Linked DNA regions of Homo sapiens: all the other regions are linked to region 2. Evidence: promoter capture Hi-C in 16 types of primary human blood cells and fetal thymus (Javierre and others, 2016). All regions are on one chromosome and are shown on one strand. Each heading gives the region's core, a stretch centred on a gene start or on the middle of the fragment in contact. The rest is flanking DNA. Distances are from core to core; before and after follow the strand shown.

The links. The method cuts DNA at HindIII sites, captures the fragments that hold promoters and counts their contacts. A CHiCAGO score of 5 or more calls a contact.
Region 1: a fragment that was not itself captured here is called in contact with the fragment with the promoter of TMEM245 in region 2 in 2 of 17 cell types (naive CD8 T cells and non-activated CD4 T cells); the score reaches 8.0 in naive CD8 T cells.
Region 3: a fragment that was not itself captured here is called in contact with the fragment with the promoter of TMEM245 in region 2 in 2 of 17 cell types (fetal thymus and activated CD4 T cells); the score reaches 8.8 in fetal thymus.
Region 4: a contact is called between a fragment that was not itself captured here and the fragment with the promoter of TMEM245 in region 2, in 1 of 17 cell types (non-activated CD4 T cells). The highest score is 5.6, in non-activated CD4 T cells.
Region 5: a contact is called between a fragment that was not itself captured here and the fragment with the promoter of TMEM245 in region 2, in 1 of 17 cell types (activated CD4 T cells). The highest score is 5.4, in activated CD4 T cells.

What each region holds. Positions count from the first base shown.
Region 1 is chr9:114,589,163-114,593,647 of GRCh38, reverse strand. It overlaps ATP6V1G1 (ATPase H+ transporting V1 subunit G1), which reads right to left. Exons shown (of 3, transcript NM_004888.4): 2 at 996-1,096. Among named protein-coding and RNA genes, the nearest start is that of ATP6V1G1, 3.6 kb to the right of the region's middle. The HindIII fragment of the contact is 2,179 bases long and covers 1,908-4,086 here.
Region 2 is chr9:109,117,032-109,121,321 of GRCh38, reverse strand. TMEM245 (transmembrane protein 245) reads left to right here and starts at 1,375. Exons shown (of 18, transcript NM_032012.4): 1 at 1,375-1,987. The coding sequence starts at 1,409. RefSeq lists silencers at 1,226-1,275, 1,416-1,585, 1,936-2,045 and an enhancer at 1,696-1,745. The HindIII fragment of the contact is 5,277 bases long and covers 1-2,517 here.
Region 3 is chr9:104,090,737-104,095,172 of GRCh38, reverse strand. It overlaps SMC2-DT (SMC2 divergent transcript), which reads left to right and starts at 2,699. Exons shown (of 3, transcript NR_121580.1): 1 at 2,699-3,084. SMC2 (structural maintenance of chromosomes 2) reads right to left here and starts at 864. Exons shown (of 25, transcript NM_006444.3): 1 at 696-864. RefSeq lists enhancers at 244-911, 1,130-1,449, 912-1,581. The HindIII fragment of the contact is 1,933 bases long and covers 1,298-3,230 here.
Region 4 is chr9:114,930,889-114,935,264 of GRCh38, reverse strand. No RefSeq gene overlaps it. Among named protein-coding and RNA genes, the nearest start is that of TNFSF8, 2.5 kb to the right of the region's middle. The HindIII fragment of the contact is 1,054 bases long and covers 2,112-3,165 here.
Region 5 is chr9:114,354,848-114,359,553 of GRCh38, reverse strand. It overlaps AKNA (AT-hook transcription factor), which reads left to right. Exons shown (of 22, transcript NM_001317950.2): 12 at 1,387-1,633; 13 at 2,585-2,691; 14 at 3,418-3,629. Among named protein-coding and RNA genes, the nearest start is that of ORM2, 27 kb to the right of the region's middle. The HindIII fragment of the contact is 7,176 bases long and covers 1-4,706 here.

The DNA.
Region 1 (4,485 bases), core at 1,748-4,247, 5.5 Mb before region 2:
GATCATGCCTACAGTCCTAGCTACTCAGAAGGCTGGGCAGGGGAGGATCGCTTAAGCCTAGAAGCTCCAGGTCACCGTGAGCTATGATCACACCACTGCACTAAAGCCTGAATGATAGAGTGTGACTCTGTCTCTTAAAAAGAAAAAATAAAAAATTGATCAAAATTTTTGCTACTTAATGCAAGGAGGGAGGTATGTGCCTTTACTCACTGGACTTGGGCCTGGAAGTGTGTATGCTGGAACTACTAGAGGCCACAGTGTAGAACTTGAGAATGATACAAAGCCAAACACAGAGGTGAGAGAAAGTCCTGAGCATATTATTTAAGCTCTTGGGTTTTTAATTATATAGGCCAATACATCCCATTTAGAATCAGTTTTAATTATATTTTGTTACCTGCACCCAAGAGTCCTGATAGTTTCTTTTCTCTGTGAGGCCCTTATCCATCCTTTCCCCTTTCCACAATTGTCCCTGCCTCCTCTATGCTTTCTGTGATCTGTTTTTGTACTATTATTGTATGCACCATAGTATAGCCTACATCACTGGTAAATGTCTGTACTATATACAATATACTAAAGTGGGGCTCCATTTGATTTATGTTTATGACCGTCACAGCATTTTTCAGTAGTAGCTCTGCATGATTTGCACTGTATTACTGAGTCTCCCTGACCACTGGATGGTAAGCTACACTCCATGAGGGAAGGGACCATGTCTATTCCTGGTCACAACTGATCCCTAGCATCTAGCACAGTACCTGGCGCATGTTAACTGCTTAACAGATACGTGTTAAATGAGTGAATAAATGAAAATTAGAAATCAATATGAATGGAAAAACTGATCATCCTAAAAGACAGATGCCTGAGCAGCCAATAAAACACACAGCTACCACATTTTCAAACTTCGACCAGGATCTCTGAGCTATGCTGGATATTCTGAAAGCCTTGGCGGGACAGGGGATCAGAAACTAAAGCAGTAACAAAAACAAATGGTGCCCCACCGCAGCTTCCTTGGCCTTGAATTCTTTCTCCCTCTGCAGGCGGTACTGTTCAATTTCAGCCTGAGCTTCTTCTTTGGCCTGCTTCAGCCTCCGGTTCTTTCCTGTTTTCAAAGGAGAGAGCTATATCAGGAAGTGGTTAAAAGTAGAAAAGCAAGCAGAGACAAGATGGTATATTATAACAATAAGCCAAGAATAAATTATGACACAGTCCGAAGAGATGTGCATGGGAAAGAGGGAATTCAGAGCTAACAAACAGTACAGGTTCCTCCCTCCTATAGGCTGTACTTAACTAGGAAGTGACAAGACAAAAATGAATACCTTCTGTAACTACAGCCCATTAAAAAGATGGAAAAAAATTGTAGAATGTGTCAGAATATTCTCTCAATCTCAACTATTAAGAACCAACATAAAATGAGTAACATTAACCATCTAGGGAACTCTTCTCCAGAAGTAAACACCTTAAGTATGCTGCTGATTAAAGGTGCAACCCTACTCAGATGCTTAGCAAGAAGGCTAATAAGCTCGCAAGGGACAGCAACATATAATGTAACTAATGAACCAACTATATAATGTAACACTGGAAACTAAAAGCAGTCCCTGTCACAAGGAAGTAAGGACAGTGGTGACTGAGAAGGAATGCTGAATGAGGAGTACTGGACAGTAAGACTGCACAAGTGGCTGAGAGAAGAGGAGACACAGGTATTTTGGTTTCTAGAAGTGAGTGGCTTAACATACAGCTGGAAAAAATCTCTAGGTTTGGTCAGAGTCTACATGAAAACAGACCACAAGGACAGCCAACATATAATCTCTGCTTTGAGTCTCCGCTCACCAATAAAAAAAAAAAAAGAGAGGTTCTAGACCATCAACCTATTTATTTGAGAGCAAAAGACATCCTGCATCTAAAATTAAGCTTTGTTATACAACACTGTACATCATTGTATACCAACTGTCTAGAGTCCACGCGAATGAGTGAAAATGAACTTAACCTTCCACATCCTGATTCAGAACAGAACTTTGGACCTGTAATGAAATGACCCCATGACATCAACATTCCCTGATGCTAGTCTGAAACAATTAACAGGTCTCTCTCTCAAAACTCCAAGAACTATTTCTGCAAGTCCACATTCACTCCAGTATTATTTCTGGCCTACTACTGTCTGCTTCGGCCACCTGTACCCCAATCCTTCACATGCTATCTTCCCATCAGCTATAATGGGCTGTATTTCAAAGCTAAAGATACTTTCGAAACCAACAATCTATAAATAACACTCATGGCCTGAACATTATGCAGTAGCTCCGCATGATTTCACAAGACATCACCTCCCAACTCCCATGGCTCCCTGCATTTATAACTCAGGATAATACCATTTACTGCCTTTGGCAAACATCTTCAACATTCAATTTTGACAGGGGCCTCTAAAAATCAAAAATATTTAAACAGAAAATCGTATTTCTCTTAAATCTTGTTCTTCTTGGGCCTTACATATGGGAGCCAGTGTTTTGTTTCACTCCAATGAAATATGCCATTAACACAAACTTTTTTAAAATTTTAAGGTCCACGCCGGGCGCGCTGGCTCACGCCTGTAATCCCAGCACTTTGAGAGGCCAAGGTGAGCAGATCACAAGGTCAGGAGTTCGAGACCAACCTGGCCACTATGGTGAAACCCTGTCTCTACTAAAAACACAAAAACTAGCCGGGCATGGTGGCAGGCACCTGTAGTCCCAGCTACTCGGGCGGCTGAGGCAGAAGAATCGCTTGAACCTGGGAGGCAGAGATTGTAGTGAGCCGAGATCACGCCACTGCCCTCCTGCCTGGGGGCGACAGAGCGAGAATCCATCTCAAAAAAATAAATAAACAAAATATATAAAATAAAATAAAAAATAATAAAAAAAATTTAAGGTCCAACTCAATGATTTCATTAAAAAAACTGGATGGGATCATTTTATATACTGCCTCTTCCCAACTCTTAACTGGGCAAATCAACCATAATTATAAATCAAGAAAGGCAAATTTTCAAACTGCAGTTCTTCTGACTACCTCTCTGTTCCTAACTATTAACAATTCTGAGACAGGCAAGGCGCAGTCGCTCATATCTGTAATCCCAGCACTTTGGGAGGCCGAGAGTTTGAGAAGAACCCGGCCGACATAGTAAAACACTGTCTCTACTAAAAATACAAAAATTTATTTTTTTATTTATGTATTAATTTATATGTTTTTGTATTTTTAGTAGAGATGGGCATGGTGGTAGGCACCTGTAATCCCAGCTACTTGGGAGCCTGAGGCACAAAATCTCGAACTCTGGAGGTGGAGGATGCAGTGAGCCAAGATGGTGCCACTGCACTCTAGCCTGAGTGACAGAGTGAGACTCTGTCTCAAAAAAAAAAAAAAAAATCTGAGAAGTATGTAAGCCATAAACTAATACTTTGGTTTGTTTTTTGTTTTTTTTTTTTTTTGAGACGGCGTCTCCCTCTGTCCCCAAGGCTGGAGTGCTGTGGGACAGATCTCCGCTCACTGCAACCTCTGCCTCCTGGGTTCAAGCGTTTCTCCTGTCTCAGCCTCCCAAGTAGCTGGGACTACACGCGCACACCACCACGCCCAGCTAACTTTTGTATTTTTAGTAGACACGGAGTTTCTCCATATTGCCCAGGCTGGTCTCAAACTCTTGATCTCAGGTGATCCACCCACCTCAGCCTCCCAAAGTGCTGGGATTACAGGCGTGAGCCACCACGCCCAGCCAAATTAATACTTTTTAAAACCAATTCACAGCTACCTGACATATACAAAACCCTGCACCAGGCTTGACAGGATAAAGGTATAAAACATAAATCCTACCTGGCTAGGGCACTCAGAATTATTCTTACCTATTCCAAGCATTTTTTCCTGCACTTCCCCAATCTATTCTCCTATCCCTCCCGACAGATACAACTTCTGTTACTGATGAGCCATCAGAACACAAACTGTGAGAAGTCATTCTGGAAATACACTATCAAGGGCATGACTGGAAATATTCTGGGAAGAACAAAGAACTTTCCAGTCACCGGAGCAAGAACAAAAGGCTTCTTCTCATTCCCAACACCCTCAAAGAAAGCTTTCCAAGTACCACACAACCCCTAACTGCACAAGTAGAGGAGACATGCTTGAAATCTAGTTGGATGTCAGATAGAATAACTCCTATACTAGGAGAAACACCAAGGAATTACTAAGATCAGTATCTTCGCCTTGCATGGAAAAAGAGGCTTCTGAGTCCCAACTATGTTGCTTCCCAGGGTATGGATAAATCATTTCTCTCTGAGCCTCATTTTTACTATCTGTAAAATAGGGATAGAAGCATCTTTCTCACCAGACGGGAAACTGGATACATAAAGTTAAATGAGACATAGTTTCTGTTCTCCAGAAGCTTAGTCTAGTGACTGAGCCATATAAACAAACAGGTTATTGCACGGCAGTGGCAGAAATCAGCACTTGGGAGGGACTCCAAGCCTAGTCCGG
Region 2 (4,290 bases), core at 126-2,625:
GCTCTTGTTAATTGGAATCTGCAAGTGGTGAGCGACTAAACCTGCGTTTTGGTTATAAAACTCCAAAGGCCATCTGAAATACTGAGACCTAAAACTTACAATCGAGATGGATAGGGAATTACTTTTTCCTTTACTTCCTTTACTAAATCCCTTTGTCTCCAAATCTATCAAGCAATAGTTTCTTTATCTGCAAACTGTGGATTATGTTACCTGTCTTGTCTGCTTTAGAAGGGAAACAAAAATTATGTAGAAATTAATAGGAATACTATTGAAACAGGAAAGGGACAACTTGCAAGGTTTGAAGCAATCACATGTTGAGTACTCAGTCAAGGCTTTCTTTTTTTTTTTAAATCAAAATGTTGATTGGGATATTTTATGGGTAGCAGGCTTGGATCCCAGCACTTTTCCAATAGGGGAACAGAAGCACCTTGTACCGCCCCAGAGTTTCCCTTCCCCCACACAATAACCCTAAAGCAAAAGCTATTATTATTATCATCGCCATGTGACAGAGGAAAACTTGAGATTGGGGGCTTAACTGACATTACATCAAGTCTCAAAAAGAAACAGTGGCAGTTTGAGACTTTGATCTACGACTCTTTTAAGAGTTTAGATTGCGTCCACAGCGAAACCTGCACAAACAGTTGTCAACAGCGGCTGCAAATTACAGGCTTATGAGGAACGTTTGAAAAATGCCAAGAGTTCTTTCCTCAGGCCAAATACTATGGTAGATAAAAGTATAGCCTTTGGAGCCAGAATCCCTGAGTTTGAATCTTGCCTGTGCCACTTGGTAGCTGTGTGACTCTGGCTGCGTACTTAACGGCTCTGTCTCAGTTTTTCTGTTGGTAAAATGAGGATAATAACACCTTCTTTGTAGGGTTGTTCTAAGGATTAAATGAGTTAATAGGAGTGAGCCACTTAGAATAGGGCCTGTTATATGGTAATCTCTATTTAAAATCCTGTCAGATACACCAAAGAAAACACTTTAAAAATATCTGTTAAATAAATCAGTAAAACAGAATCGGGGCATTGGTTCTTTAAAAGTACTCCCCCACGGTATTCTAGTATGCAGCTTGGGTTTTAATATCTGAATGTGGCGCCTTTTGGGATCTCGCCTCGCGAGAAATTGACATTAACGAATGAGTGAAAGGAGCTTCCCCCCCCCCCCCCCTCCAGGAAGATATAGACCCTGCAAACTTGTTAGCAGGACCTTGCGGACACCAAGGAGGCGGAGGCGTTTTCCCCATTTCCCCTTCGGGAGTTGTAGTTTCCTGCAAGCGCTTGGTGGGTCTGTAAACCAGCGGGGAACTACAACTCCCACAATCTCGCGCGCCTCCCGCCCTGCCTCCCGCCCGCGTTTCTAGCCCGACTCCCATTACCGCCCCTCGGGGGCGGCTGTGGCGGAGGAACGATGGCCGACGGCGGCGGCCCTAAGGACGCGCCAAGCCTGCGGAGCTCTCCCGGGCCGGCGCCGCGGGTCCCGCGCGCGGTCGGGCCGAGTGGCGGTGGCGGGGAGACCCCGCGGACCGCGGCGCTGGCGCTGCGCTTCGACAAGCCCATTAAGCAGGCCTTCTACAACACCGGGGCCGTGCTGTTCGTGTGCCTGTGCTGCGGCGCCGCGGTGCTGGTCTACTTCATCCTGGAGGCCTTCCTGCGGCCGCTGCTCTGGGCCGTGCTATGCGGCACTTTTCTGCACCCCTTCAAGAGCTCGCTGACGCGCCTGGGCCGCCACTGGCTGCAGCGCCTGCACCGCGCGCACACGCCCATCGTCCTGGCCGCGCTGCTCCTGCCGCTCTGCTTCGTCGACTACGGCGTCGAGGCCCTGGGCGAGCAGGCGCTGCGCCGCCGCCGCCTGCTCCTGCTGCTCGGCGCCGGCGGCCCGCTCCTGTACGGCCTCTACTGCCTCGGCAGCTACTTGGGCGTGCAGGTGCTGCTGGTGCACGCTGCCACGCTCATCTGCCGCGGGCTGGACTACTTCAGCAGCCTGTGGGTGAGTGAGCGGCAGTCCGCCCCCGTCCCCCGCCCGTGGTCCCGGCGCTCTGGGGTGCAATCCTGCAGCTGTTCCTCCCGGTGCAGGGGCGACGAGGGGCCACACCTGTGCTGCAGTGACCGTCCGTCTCCGCTTTCCTTCTCACACCTCAGGAATTTGGCGGACATTCTTCCAAAAAGGGGGCGGGCGTGATTTGAAACAGCCTCCCTGCTTTTCGCCTTGTTTCAATCCTAATAGGCCCTCTTAGGGGGACAGTGCCCTGGATTGAGAATCGTTATTTCGCTTTGCAGAGAGAGGCCTCAGAGCATGGCAGTGGGGCTTGGTTTTACTTCTGGTTGGAGAGGGCGGGGGTGCTTCGGCCACCCTCAGTTCTGCGCATCTGAATGTCAGAGCTGGAAGGGACCTTAGAGATTCTAGGCCAACTTGCCATCCTGCAGATAGGAAAGGTGACCTCTTACCAGGCTAGGGCTACTTAGGGACAAAGAGGGGTTTGGGTGTCTTAGATTTCTTACAAGTCCTAAAACAAAGCTTGCTTCACTGGCTGGTGCTGCCTCTCAGTTCAGGTGATTCCTGTATAATTTGTGCAAGGCACTGGGTGCTGAGCTGCCTGTGCTTCTTCCTCTCCACGCTTTACTTTTAGGTAACTGCTTTTGTTGTGCAGGGACTGGTGTACCACAGCACACCTCCTCCCGCCTGGAGTAAAGCAGCTGACCGCGTGAAGGGGAGAGACGTAGATTTGTGATGCTTGGATTAACCTGAGCTTACTCTTACAAAACCAGGGAGCTTTAGAATTGGAAAGATTTCAAAGGTAATCTAGTGACACAATTCCTAACTCAGACTATATTGTGGACTAGTTAATTATCCACATATTTAACTGGAGACTGTTAAAAACAAGTGGAGATTTAGTGCGTAAGAATGCCAATTGATTCATAAACAGTACCATTTACAAATTGATTCACTTCTTTTGTCAGTGAAATAAAGTTCAGTGTACCTTGACGTCATTAAGTTGGAAAATATTAATTCCCCTTATCTGTCTAGCGGTGTTTTGGCTTGCCTGAGGTTATTGGCAGAGTGATGAATGACCCAAAACACCCTTCTTCTCTTGTTCCCTCAATACCACCTCTTGGTTCATGTTTAAAGTTGATCGAGCATATGTTAGGTGTTGGGCTTTGTGAGAGGTTTAAAAAAGGACTAAGATACAGGTCCCGTCTTCACGGTACATATAATCCTATATGAACATATTCTAATGGAGATGACAGACATACAGATAAATGTTCATGACTCATCCGTTGTGGGCCACAGGCCCAGAGAATGTGATTGGTCCAAAGTCACACAGCTCATGAGCAAATCTGTGGTTCACTTTTATGGAGGCCCAGTTCAGCGCTCTTTATCCTTTATCTTGCAGTTTCACAATTCAGTTAAGTGGATCGAATGCTTCTTAGCTAGAAGGCAGAACACTATGTTCTAAGAAAAATAAGCTTGGTTATTTTCCTGAAGAAATTCAGTTTTGTCAAAGACACATTTATAGATTCTGCTAACATTTTTGACTGTTGATACTGCTCAAGGAGCATATCCATCAAACTATAGGAAAGTAGAAAAGAAAGGCCTGCCACATGTAAATAGTATATTTTCATGCTAGAGTAAGAAGTTGAATACCTAAGTAATTTGGCATGATTATGAGGCATTTCTACCAGTCTCTCTCAGATACTCAGTGGAAAGAGTTGAGCACTTGTAAAGAAACATCCACAGCTCGGCGTATACCTTTGAGTATCTTTTTACTGAAGATAAACCCTCATCTTTGTATTTCATTTGTGGGTTGTGGATGAGTGGAAGAGAAGTAGGGGCCAACACTGATTAGACCTGGGAGTGGGAGAAAGAAGGTCAAACTAATTAATGATTTTTTAAAAGCTTGAAATTGGCCGGGCGCGGTGGCTCACGCCTGTAATCCCAGCACTTTGGGAGGTCGAGGCGGGTGGATCACCTGAGGTTAGGAGTTCAAGACCAGCCTGGCCAACATGGTGAAACCCCGTCTCTACCAAAAATACAAAAAAAAAAAAATTAGCTGGGTGTGGTGGTGGGCACCTGTAATCCCAACTATTTGGGAGGCTGAGGCAGAAGAATCACTTGAACCCGGGAGGCAGAGGTTGGAGTGAGCCAAGATTGCACCACTGCACTCCATTCTGGGTGACAAGCGTGAAATTCCGTCTCAAAAAAAAACCAAAAAAACCTTGAAATTCAGCTGTTTGGCTCAAGTGTTGGGAGCAAGGAAAAAGAGAGAGGGTTAAAAAAAAACAAACTCAACA
Region 3 (4,436 bases), core at 1,015-3,514, 5.0 Mb after region 2:
AAAAATATACCAGAGTTAGCCACTATCTGGAAATTAAACCATTCAACTGGGAAGTCTTAACTATTTCTTCTACCCGTTTTTCCAGGCTTGCCTTCTACTTTTATCATACTCTACCTAAACAAAGACTATGGATTATTACATATCCCATTATCTTTGCCTATAATGTGCTTTTCTCTGATACTGACATAGCTTACTCTCTACTGCACTCACGTCTTTGCTCAAATGTCACCTTACTGGAGTCCTCCCTGACCTCCCTATGTCACCTCTCCACAATCCTTCACTCGGCTTTCTTTTTCCTTCATGGTACTTAAAGCTGATATTAGACGGTCATTACTTGTCTGTAAGTTCCCGCAGTGTCTTCACCTACGTCCGTCATTGCATCCCCGAATTGTGCTTGACTCCGGGAGGAGGGGAAGTCATTTAAGTATTTACTAGAGATGAGATGTATCTCATATTCTCCAACTTCTTGCTTTTACTCAGGCTTTTACCTCGCTTCTCCAGGCCTGTCTACACCTCTTCGCCCTACTCCAAGGTCGAACAGAAGCTAGCCTTTATTTCTAAGGATCACCTAAGGTCCCTCTGCCACTGGTCCCCCTCCCTACAGCCCCCGCGCCCCGCGCCCCGCCTCCCGCCTCCCGCCTCCCGCCAGGAAGTCTGGCCCGGCCCAACCGGCCGTGCTCACGCACACGCCTCACCGCTGCCTCAGGCCAGGGGCTTGACGCACCCCAAAAGCTCCTCCGGGTCACAAAGGCAGGGAACAGAACAACTCTCTAGCCGGGGCCGCTACAAAGCGAACTTCACCATAGCGGCTACAACACCTGCCACACCGCTCTCAACACCCGCGCCGGAACTATTTATTCCTTTGAATTTCGGCGCGAGCAAAGGACCCCACCTCCATTGCTTATTTCCTGTGCTGGTGCCTAGGAGCTGCCTGTCTTTAGGGTTCAATTTTTCCCCTACACTCGAAGGATTAAAGCCGCAGGGCAATAGAATGAGAGTCTCGATAATGGTAGCTCCGGGGACTCCCCGGCAGGGGCCTGGGCACTACAGGAGCAGATAGTGTATGTTCACACCGGCGTCCGGCACTCTATGGTCAGCCCCACACCTCGGCCCCGGGTCCTCGCGCTTCGCCAGCCCCGCCCCGCCTCGGTCCCTCTAGTTCGCGTTAGGCACACTGCAGACTCCGCCTTCTCCAGTCTGCGGTGCTGGCTGTGGCTTACTTTTCTCTCCTCAAAGCGACAGTTAGGAAGTGGAGAGGCATTCTATGAGTGTTCTCGTCGGTTCTGTTTTGGAAGCTTCAGAATCTTCTCGGGTTGGCTCAGATTGCTGCAAAATAAAAGCTGTACTTCTTGGGGCCAGAGAGGCACCGTCCTTCGGGGGACTCTGGCCCGCGTCCTGGCTCCGCCCCGTACTGGCCTCGGACCTCGGGGAGCGTTTTTATCTGAAGTTTCCACGTCGGAAAGGGATCGTAGTCTACCGAGAGCTGTTCCGAGCCCAGAGGAGAAATTGTGTGGTGCTAAATAGCTATTCATCTCCCTTATACCGGAAAGCGTTGTAATGATAAGCCGACCTAACCTGTTGGGGATTTTTTCTGGAAACCTTTTAAGACAGTTCATGTTATTGAGTTCTGAATATTAGGCTATATTGCAAGGGGCTTTTTAAAATCCACGTAGCAACCCTATGAAATCAGAAATTGCCCTCGTTTTACAAATGAGTTAAATGAGACCAAGTAAAAGGTTAAACAGCTTGTCTAGTAAGCTGGGATTTGTTCCCAGGCGGTCTAGCTCCAGATTGCATGCTTTTAAATACTAGGCTTCATGCATAGAATCTAGTATTATTAGCCGATCCTATTATTAGTATGTATTGTTCTTTAGGAAGAAAAAACGTGTCAGGATTGCTCACGTTTCCAAGCACGTTGATACTTAAGAGTTAGGAAGGGCTTAACTCCGAATGGGTATGGTGTTACCCTAAGTGAGGTTCAAAAAGATGGTGTGGGCAACAATGCTATTTTGGAATGGCTTGATCCTTTTGGGCTTCCATAACAAAATATCCTAGACTGGGTAGTTTATGAACCACAGAAGTTTATTCTTCACATTTCTGAAGGCTGGAATGTCACAGAATAAGGTGTGTCTAGGGAGGGGTGCTTTCTCTTTAGTGGATAGCACCTTCTGGCTCTGTCCTCGCATGGTGGAGAGGCAGAGGCCCTCGCTTGGGCCTATTTTATAAGGACCTTAATCCCATTCCTCACTTCCCAAGATGCCACTTGCTAAAACCGTCAGTTCGGGAGTTAGGATTTCAAAATGTGCATTTTGAGGGACACATTTAGACCATAGCGTAGGTCATGTTTTTAAAGTTGCTTTCTTGGCCCTGGAATGGCAATGCAGTCATCTGAATTGGTCTTAACCTACCAGGAATGGGCTTATATTTTGAAAATATTTCTCGATAAGGGAGTAAAATAAGTTGTATGGGTTTTTTGTTTAAGAAAGGATTCCTTTGTTTACTCTGGTATGCTTATCCACTTCTGTGATGTCAACCATGGGTAGTGACCTAACATTAATTTAATTCAACAGATATCTTTGTCTGCCTTGATTCCTGCATCCCCTGGGCTCCACAGCTATTCACTTGTATTGATTCTGTTAACTCTTACACATTAACTTTGAGCTGTGTCTCCTTCCTTTTATCATTTTGTGAGTAAAGAATTTTAATTTGCCAACAAATCCTAATGTGGACTTTGTCACGTTGTGAAATAAAGTGATTTTTTGGTATGGAAATATGTGTTAAGACAGACTGTTAGTCTTTGCACTTTAACAACTAGCTGATACACTTACGTCACATGGATGAAAACATACACAAGTGCACTGTTGTTGGATAAGGACTCCTGGGTGGTTAGAAGAATGTGCAGATCTAACTACTCCCATTAAGACCATTGATTAAAATGAAAAATGCTTATAAAGGTGGAGATCTCTCAGTTTTAGTCTTATTGCGTGCCAGAAGCACTAAGGAATTGCTGCTAAATATAAGACAAATGGACTTGAGGAAATCACTGATGACTAACTTGAAACTCTGCCTCCTGAGATCACACAGGTGAGTGGAAAAAACCAAGGCACAAAGCCAGTGAAGCCCCCTAATTTGGAGATGTGAGGGGTAGAAACAGAGAGTATAGGGTAGATGCAGTGTACAGAAAACACTGTTCTTGCTTCATCACCATGGATTAAAATCGTTTGAAAGCTTCAACGCTAGCGGGCAGTGTTTCAAGCAGAAATCTGGCAGCTAGTGGAGTCTGAGTCCTTATATGGAAGGCATCATCAGTACCAGCAAGGACACACATACAGCCACAAAGCAAGACCTAGGAGAAATATTTGGTGCTCTACTCTCCTAGGGAACTGGAAGGAACCTGCTCTCTCCTGGGTATACTTTTCTAATTTTAGAGTGCTAAAGAAGCTCTTCTCACAGGGACCCGAGTGAATCCTTTCTCCTTGGAACAAAGGACAAGAAAAAAAGAAAGGACTTTACCGCAGAAGTAAGGAAGACTCATTTTGTTGAGAGATTATTTTTAGGTTCAAGGAAATGAATTGATAATGACAGGAAGTTTATATTTTTACATTGGATTGACTAGCAGCACTTTTATTTTTTCAGAGAAGGAGTCTCACTCTGTCTCAGGCTGGAGGGCAGTGGCCTGGCAGCACTTTTTGAATACACTCGTGCACCACATAATATTTCAATGTCTGATTACATTATGTGACTGTGGTCCCTTAAGATTATAATGGATAATTCCTGTTGCTTAGTGATGTTGTAACATCGTAGTGCAACATACTACCCTTTCTGTTTAGAAACACAAACACAACATTGTGTTATAGTTACCTACATTATTCAGTACAGTAATATGCTATAAAAGTTTGTAGTCTAGAATCATAAGGCTATAATATGTAGGTTTGTGTTAAGTATACTTCATGATGTTTGCACAACAATGAAATTGCCTAATGAGGCGTTTCTCAGAACGTATCTCGTCGTTAGGCAACGCATGACTGTATTTTATTTCTAACGCCATATTATTTGAACTGTGGGTTCACCGAATATAACCTGTTTGACAAACTTGCAAAGAAACACAGCTAAGTATAATTTAAAATGAGGAATAGAAAAGGAGGTTATTATATTCATTCACCCAGTGGGACTGGTTAGACCCATTCATTTTAATGTCAGTGACAATATTGTTTTCTAAAATACATGTTCTGTTTGGTTCTTTGTGAATTCTGCCTCTTCTTTCATTATGATTTCTATTATTTTGTCCTTTTAATCAAGTTATATGTCTTTATTTTATCTTCTTTTCTGTTAGTTCTGTTATTTTTAGCTTTTCAGTTCCTAACTCTTGTTTACGACCTCCACTGACTCTTACTCAGTGATTTATTTCCTCATGTGGTGCTCTTCTTCAGTGGGAT
Region 4 (4,376 bases), core at 1,389-3,888, 5.8 Mb before region 2:
TAGGTGCCTGCCAGATTTGGCCTATGGTTCAGTTTGCTAGCCCTGTTCCAAATCTTCCTCCCACTGCCCCTGTCCTCACTGGGCCCTCTCAATGAAGTGTCACTGTGGCTCGACTCCAACATCCAATCTCTTCAAGTTAGCCCCAGCAAGACAAAGAGCTCTAAAGTTAAAGGGACAGGACCCTCCCTCCTCAAAAGGCCATTTAGTTACATGTGTTATTGCTTGAATATACCCTGGGTGAGTCTGTCCTTGTCTCACATATACCCATAGTTTAAAAATATATATTCCTACCATGTACAGTGATCATCAAAAGATAATCTTAAATGGATAAAATTATTAAGTTACTTTTAATGGCAAAAACCGCAATCACTTTTGCACCAATCTAATGATTTTTAAATGGAGTAAAATGTCTCCATTCTATTCCAAATATATCTGCATTCCAGAAAGGTTCTGAAGGTATTTCTAGAGCCTGCAGCCGTAGTCAAGGTTAGAAAGAGGGCTCAATAAAGGGAGCAGAAAAACTAGTCTGTAAACCAACATGACCCAGCTACATGGCCCCAGACAATAACTTTTATTATGCCTCAGTTTCCCTACCTACACAATGGAGGTGGTAGTTTACCTGTCCAAAGGCTAAATTTTGGACCAGATGATCTCTTGGAGATTGTTTCCCTAAATCAGTGTTTTTCAAATGGTCTCAGGCATCTGCATTCCCTGGGGTGCTTTGTTAAAACAGACTACCAGACCCCAGCCTGAGTTTCTGAATTAGAGTAGGTCTAGAGGGTCTTAAAGTGGCACCAAGTTCCCAGGTGCTACTGCTGCCACTGCTGGTGTGGGCTTACACCTGAAGGCCTCTAGTCTCTACAACAGAGATCTCCCAGTCCCTTATACAGGAAAGCAATGTTGGAGGAATGGCTACTGCTGGCTTCCCTTTACTTTTCAAAATGGCTTTCCTTCTTGAAGGGATGAGACGTTAGTTCTATTTGCCCACTGAGTCTCAGGCACTGCAGCCACATCTCAGCAGCCAATTCCAGGCTGAAAGGAGGCTGGGTGGTCACTCTCATGAGGCCATTCTCTGGAGAAAGATAGAGACACGGAGTACAGTTGAGAAGAGAGAGGCAAGAATGCCACCACACAATTCCTTTACATAAGCCACTCTTCTAGAACTTTCTCTTTCCATAAACATGAAGCATAGATTGAAGGTCAACCCTGCATATATGACCAGCAGCAAGAAACGCAAGGTGGGATGCAAGGACTTAGAAGACTAGGAAAGTGCAGACCGCCCTCAGGGACTCTCATCTTATGAGCAAGGCAACATTTACATGTGTTTACACACTTGGGTTCCACATCAAGAGAAGTAGATAATTAGACAATTAGGTTATGTGGCATGAAAATAGAGGCATTCCAGAGAGGGTGTTGGTGGACTTGAGAGATCTGGGCAAGCATTCCTGGAGATGGTGAGGCGGGTTGGCAAAGGCTGGAAGGGAGAGGAAGAACAGGAGCAGTGGAAAGCCAAGTAAAACACGAGAGGAAGCCTGGATGCACCTGGAATATTAGCAGAGCCGACATGAGAATGAGCAGAGAGGGCCGGGCAAGCAGAGGGGGTTGGGTGCGGTAGCTCATGCCTGTAATCCCAGCACTTTGGGAGGCCGAGACAGGCAGATTACGAGGTCAGGAGTTCAAGACCAGCCTGGCCAACATGGTGAAACCCTATCTCTACAAAAGATTAAAAAAAAAAAAAAATAGCCAGGCCTAGGGGTGTGTGCCTGTAATCCCAGCAACTCAGGAGGCTGAGGCAGGAGAATCACTTGAACCTAGGAGGCAGAGGTTGCAGTGAGCCGAGATTGCGCCATTACACTCCAACCTGGGTGACAGGGCGAGACTCAGTCAAAAAAAAAAAAAAAAAAAAAAAAGGAGAGAGAATGAGCAGAAGGGACTCTTACACCTGTCTCTCTCCCTGATGGTATGTACTTCCTTTAGTTGTTCCCATTTCTGTGTCCCAGTTTCCTCCTTTTGTGGAATGAAGGATTCAAGCCAAATTTTCTGAAGTTTCTAAATTTTATTCACCTTGGAGAGACCCCATGCCAGAAAAGGGCAAATGAGCAGGTGAAGCTTAGCCCTTCTCTTTGTCCCACCTGTGCTTCAGCCAAAGCAGCCCTGTTTTCTTATGTTTTTATATTCCTTATACAGCTTTGCTTCCAGAAAGGATTTAAAACTTACTCAACAAGAAATTCTATAAAGGCTCCTTCCATCTGCACATCGTACAGCTTGAGTAGAAGACAGAAAGAAGCCAGTTAGCACAGGTCATGGATTTCTATGTTGGCCAGGCTAGATTCTAGAACAGCTGGAAAGCAGAGAGGGGCTTAGAGCAATGGGGGTGGGAAATAGGGAGCCACTGAAGGTTTGTGAGTAGAGGAGTGTCACAGCAAAAGAATGAATTGAGCCCACAAACTACTGTACTAGGAACTGATCCGAAAATCTCAACTGCTCAGAAAGTTGAGTAAAAACAAAGGGTGATTTTTCCCCCTTGTCAGCCTTCCCTCCCAGGACATTGTATTGTATGCAAAACGGGTAACTGTAAGACAAACATTTTTTTCCACTGCCCTTCTCAGCCCCACAGGCCTTCAGGAAGACCCGAACTTCAAGCAAAGCCTTTTTATTTTTCAACACCCACAGCTTCCATTCAACAATCAGAAGTTTTCCACTTTGATCAAAGAGGCTGAACAAGAGGGCCAAGGGAGCAGCTGGTTCTCAGCAACTCTGGGCAGACCACAGAGCCCTTGCTACCCACTCACTGTCCGTGCCCACCAGAGGACACAGCCTTCTCCCCAAATCAGCCAGGTACATGCCCCAGAAAACACTGGCTTGCCTCGTTCCCACCTTAATTACCGGACCAAACGAACGTGAACACACTGTTTTCAAAACCAAACTCAATTGGGATCACGGGGGCCTCGGTTTCCTTGATTGTAAAATGGGTATATCGCCCCCCACTCTATTTAGCCCAAGAAAACAATTTATCTCTTGATGTCTCTTTCGTCTCCAGGATCTATGCTTTTACAGACTCACTGGGAGGAAATATCCAGACCAAATCCTAAAGCCTGATCTAATTTGGGAGATGCTCAGAAGTTTTGGTTCTATGCAAGAACAGCAGTGGTAATAATCCAAGCTTGGCTTTAGACACAGGACGTTTCCTTAGGGGCATCTGGGATCTCTGCTGGCTCAAAGTGATGCGCTGCAGACAAAAAGTGAGCAGAAAGGAAAGGAGGTGCTATGCAGAATGAGCTTCTTCCACGGTGATACCAAATGGAGCTTTCAAAGGCCCACATCTGGAGGCAGCAGCTATGCAGTGATTAACATTTTAAACGGTATTTTGAAATGGAGATCATTAGTAACCACAGATGTGATCTGACTCTGTCCCCCAGGTAATCTGTCTATTGTATCTAAATTCCAGACTTAGCCCAGTAGACAGCTTGGGATGTTTAACAGGAATTGTCCAACACCATCCCCAAATCTATTTTTATTCATGGAGTACTCTGACATCATCTCGCTTGGTCTTCCTGATGACTGTAATGCAGATTGGGAACAGAGAAAGCCATAAAGACTTGTATGATGGCCCAAGGCTAAGAAGGGAAAGGGCTGAGACCACACTTCAGGTTTTAGCTTTCAGGTGCAGTGAAGATTGAATGACTTAGCACGAGCTTTCAGCCAGGCAGGCTGCAAAGTGCACCCAAGTTCTTTCAGTGATCGACACTTGCGACTTAGGTTGAGATAGTTTTCATCCTCCCTGAGCCTCAGTTTTCCCATCTGTAAAAAATAAACATTGCCTGCCTCGGAGGGTGGAGGTGGAAGTGGAATGAAGCCACATGTAACTCCTAGCGCTGTGCCTGAGACAGTAGAGGTTCAATTATAGTAGTCACATACACACACAACACATACATACACAAGACACAACACACCACACACAACACATACATACACACCACACACAACACTTACATACGCACCACACTCGGCATGCATTGCAGATCACAAATGCACACCACACACACACTGCATACATATACCATAGAGAACACACAACACCTACACATACCCCCATACCACAAATACACACACACTACATAGTACACCACGCAGAACACACACAGCCCCCATATTCCACACCACACCATCTCACTGCCAATTCCTTCCCCTCTTCATGAGTTTTACGGCAGGTCCAGGTTCATCTGCCAGTTTAACAGATCCCAAAACTTCTGCAGGAGTGTTTGTTCAAAAGATTGATATTTCCAGATTCCTGCTTTCTGACAGTATCTTTGAACCCCAAATTTCATACTGCCATGAGCCAGTCCCCCTTTGGAGAAATATCTCCATTTGTGTGC
Region 5 (4,706 bases), core at 547-3,046, 5.2 Mb before region 2:
CCTAAAACCACAGGGATGATCACTGTCAGAGTGAATAAGACAGCGCTTCACAGTTTAGACATGGCTTACCTGTCCTGCCTCTTCAAGTGTGGAATGTATACCACTGATAGCCCTTGAAATGATTTTGGGTAGTGTGGGACATGATTTTCAGTAGGACACATGCAGTATTAAAGAACATTATTCTCAGCTGGGCACAGTGGCTCATGCCTGTAATCCCAGCATTGAGGGAGGCCAAGGCAGGTGGATCACTTGAGTCCAGGAGTTCAAGACTAGCCTGAGCAAAACGGCAAAGCCCCATCTCAACAAGAAATACAAAAATTAGCCAGGCATGGTGGTACACGCCTATAGCCCTAGCTATTTGGGAGGCTGAAGCAGGTGAATCTCTTGAGCCCAGGAGGCGGAGGTTGCAGTGAGCTGAGATCGGGCCACTGCACTCCAGCCTGGGTGATAGTGTGAGACCCTGTCTCAAAAAAAAAAAAAGAAAAAAGAATATCATTCTCTTTTTCTGTCTCTGACCTTCTAATGATGCCAAGGAGAAAGTCTCAGTTAGTGCTGTGGTGTCTTTTTTATTTTTCTTTTTTTGTACTTTAAGTTTTAGGGTACACGTGCACAACGTGCAGGTTTGTTACATATGTATACATGTGCCATGTTGGTGTGCTGCACCCATTAACTCGTCATTTAACATTAGGTATATCTCCTAATGCTATCCCTCCCCCCACCCCACAACAGCCCCCGGTGTGTGATGTTCCCCTTCCTGTGTCCATTTGTTTTCATTGTTCAATTGCCACCTATGAGTAAGAACATGCGGTGTTTGGTTTTTTGTCCTTGTGATAGTTTACTGAGAGCTGTGGTGTCTTTAATGCCTCTCTTGAACTTCTGTGGAAAAAGAGAGAGAGAGACAGTATGAGAGCACACAAGGCCTAGAGCATTTAGCAGGCAAGTGGATCTATCTAGTATATGATAATATTCAGGTTTCTTATATTTATCCTCAAAGTTAGTTTCTGTTTGTCACATGACACACTGATCTTCTGTTTTGAATAGTGATCTAAAATCTTTGGAGTAGATGGAAGTTTATGGAAATGACTGAAATAGGGAAGGTGGTATGCAAACTCCTTAAGTCTGGGAAATGCTGCTTTAACATTTCCTCTTTGGTGTTGGGTGGGTTTTGTTGGCATCCATATTTTATAGTTGAGAAAAGTGAGGTTGAGAGAGGGGAAGTGCCTTGCCCTAGGTCACACAGCTAGAAGGTGGCAGAACCAGGCTGGGCAGCCAGGGATGTCTGACTCCAGAGCTTGTGCCCTGGGCTGCTTGGCTCCCAGGACAGGCCAACCCCTGCGTCAGGGCTGCCTGGCAGAACTCAAGGATGGTCTTCTCTTCCCATGCCAGGGAGGCCACGGAGAAGATGGTATCTATGAAGCCACCAGGTTTCCAGGCATCCCTGGCTAGAGACGGGCACATGTCAGGCCTGGGCAAGGCTGAGGCAGCCCCTCCAGGCCCTGGCGTGCCACCCCACCCTCCAGGCACCAAGTCCGCAGCATCCCACCAAAGTAGTATGACCAGCCTGGAGGGAAGCGGCATCTCTGAGCGCCTTCCACAGAAGCCTTTGCACCGAGGCGGTGGGCCCCACCTGGAGGTAAGTCTCCACATGGGGGAATGGGCCCAGAACCTCAGGGTCATTCCTGGGTCTTCTCAACTTTCTGCTTCTGGGTCTTTCCTTGTGCTATTCCTTCTTGGAATACTTGCTGCTCCTGTCCCTGCCAGCCACAATCCCACCTGACATGCAGGACTTATGCTCAGTGTCACCCCCCAAACCTGTCCCTCTTCCGGAGCTCTTGTTCCTCCTCTGAGAGCTTGCAACCCATTGCTTATACTTCTCTGAGCCTGCCCATCACAGCTGGAGAGACTAGTTCTATGCTCTTTAGAGTAGACATCACTGCTGCAAAGTCACAGGCCACTATGGAAATGTGACTGTCATAGAATAATGCATATATATGCATGCATGTGCACTTATGCACAAACACACACACACACACACACACTTCTGTAGTCCTAACGAGCCCATGGTCAGGATTCTCTGCACTAGACATGAACTCAGCGAGGGCAGGCACCTGTGTTGCTCTGTTTGTGTTCTCTGTGCCGTGTGTTAAACCCAGCGGGTAGGACCTGTACATATTTGATGGTCTCGTTTTTCCAATGCCTTGGGCCTGAGCATTTCCACTGTCAGATAAGACCATAGTATTCCAGGCCTAAGCCAGGAGACACTGGAAATAAGGCTTTCTCCCTCTCCCCTTGCTAGTCCTTGTCCATGGCCTTGTCTCTCCCAAGGGCTCTGGCTGCCACCCCTCAGGGAGGCAGCACTTGCTGAGGGTCCTCCTGGGGTGCAGAGTCCCTGCTGGTAGCCAGATTCTTGTGCTGAGGCCTGAGAGCCTGAGAGCCCTCACTCCTGGGCCTGGCTGTTGGGAGCTGGGCCAGCAACCCTGGGGTGTGAGCCTCTGGGAGGTGAGGCCAGGCCACGATTTGGGAAGGGCTTCCCAGTGTGCCTTGGACACATTCCTCAGACATAAAGGGATACTGCCTCTTTCAGGAGACCTGGATGGCGTCCCCAGAGACAGACAGTGGCTTTGTGGGCTCAGAAACAAGCAGAGTTTCACCCCTCACCCAGACTCCAGAGCACCGGCTCTCCCACATCAGGTATCCCGGGATCCCGCCATTGTCCCGTCAGTGCCACATTCCTGGGACAGCCTGGGAATCACAGTGCCTGTGATGGCCCAGAATAAGAGAGGATGGTCTGTCCATTCGTAGGCCCTCATTTCATCCCCTAACCGTGATTTCTTGTTCCTGTGTTATGGACAGAGGAAACAGAGCTTCAGAGAGGGGAGTAACTAGTCCAGCCTCACATAGCTAATTAGCGACAGACTGGGAAATTCATTTTTGTTGAGCAAATGAATGGATGAATGAATAAAAACTACAGGGAGGGCACTGTGAGGTGAACAGAAGACAAGGGCAAAGGGCACTCAGGGTGGCTACATGGAACCCAAAGGGAAGGGAGAAGGCGGAGGGGACAGGGGTGAAGAGTGGAGGGATGGAGCCTCCAAAGCTGGGTGCAGGCCCTTCAGGAGGCCCACATGGCAACCCAAGGGTGCATGCAAAGGAAGGATTAGAAATCCTATTTCTCTTTTATGTATTCTACACATAAACTGAGCTTTATTATTTTGCATATTGGGTTGGCCAGTGAACAGTTTACAAAGAATTGGGCATCTAATGTGTGTGTGTCCTTGGAAATATTGTACCACCCGAGATGCAAAGTTACAAAGGGTGGGAGCTTATTGGGTTAGCATGTGGAGGGGCTCAGATGCTGCCGCCTGAGTGTCTCACTCTGTGTGACCCCTGTGTGTCCCTTCCTCCACGGTCCCCCAGCACAGCAGGAACATTAGCCCAGCCCTTTGCTGCATCTGTGCCCAGGGATGGAGCTTCCTACCCCAAGGCCAGGGGTTCTCTGATTCCCAGAAGAGCCACAGAGCCCAGCACACCCCGGAGCCAAGCACAGAGGTACCTCTCCAGCCCAAGTGGGCCTCTCCGGCAGAGGGCACCCAACTTCAGCCTGGAGCGGACACTGGCAGCCGAGATGGGTGAGTGCAGGAGTCTGACTTGGACAGAACTGCATGGGTTGAAAAATCAAATAGAAAAACTTGCAGAACCCTTTAGGATATGACATATTAGCCAGGTTCATTGTACTGAAATTTGAAATTACAGATAACGTGGACAAAAGGGAACAAAAGAAAAAAAAATACTCTGGAAACCATCAGTGCTGACGTTTTGGTGTAGAACCTGTGAGCTGTTCTCTGTGCCGATATAAATGTGTGTTTGTTTACACATACTGTCATGCACTGCATAGCAACGTTTTGTTCAACGACAGACAGCGTGCACGGCGGTGGTCCCATAAGATTTTCATGGAGCTGAAAATTCCTTTGGTTGCGATGTTGCAGTCATTGCAGAGCAACACTTCACTCACATGTTTGTGGTGATGCTGGTGGAAACAAACCTACTGCGCTGCCGGTCACATGAAAGTACAGTCCCAGCCGGGTGCAGCGGCTCGTGCCTGTAATCCCAGCACTTTGGGAGGCCGAGGCGGGTGGATCACCTGAGGTCAGGAGTTCGAGACGAGCCTGGCCAACGTGGTGAAACCCCGTCTCTACTAAAAATACAAAAAATTAGCCAGGCATGGTGGCAGGTGCCTGTAATCCTAGCTACTTGGGAGGCTGAGGCAGGAGAATTGCTTGAACCCGGGAGGTGGAAGTTGCAGTGAGCTGCAATCGTGCCATTGCACTCCAGCCTGGGTGACAGAGCAAGACTCTGTATCAAAAAAAAAAAAAAAAGTACAGTACAGGCCGGGCATGGTGGCTCATGCCTGTAATCTCAGCACTTTGGGAGGCCAAGGTGGGAGGATCACTTAAGGCCAGGATCACCTGTGGCCAACATGACAAAACCCCATCTCTATTAAAAATACAAAAATTAGCCAGGTGTGGTGGCTTACGACTGTAATCCCAGCTACTCAGGAGGCTGAGGCATGAGAATTGCTTGAACCCAGGAGGCGGAGGCAGAGGTTTCAGTGAGCCAAGATCGCACCACTGCACACCAGCCTGGGTGACAGAGCAAGACTCTGTCTCAAAAAAAAAAAAAAAAAGTACCGTATAGCACCTACGATT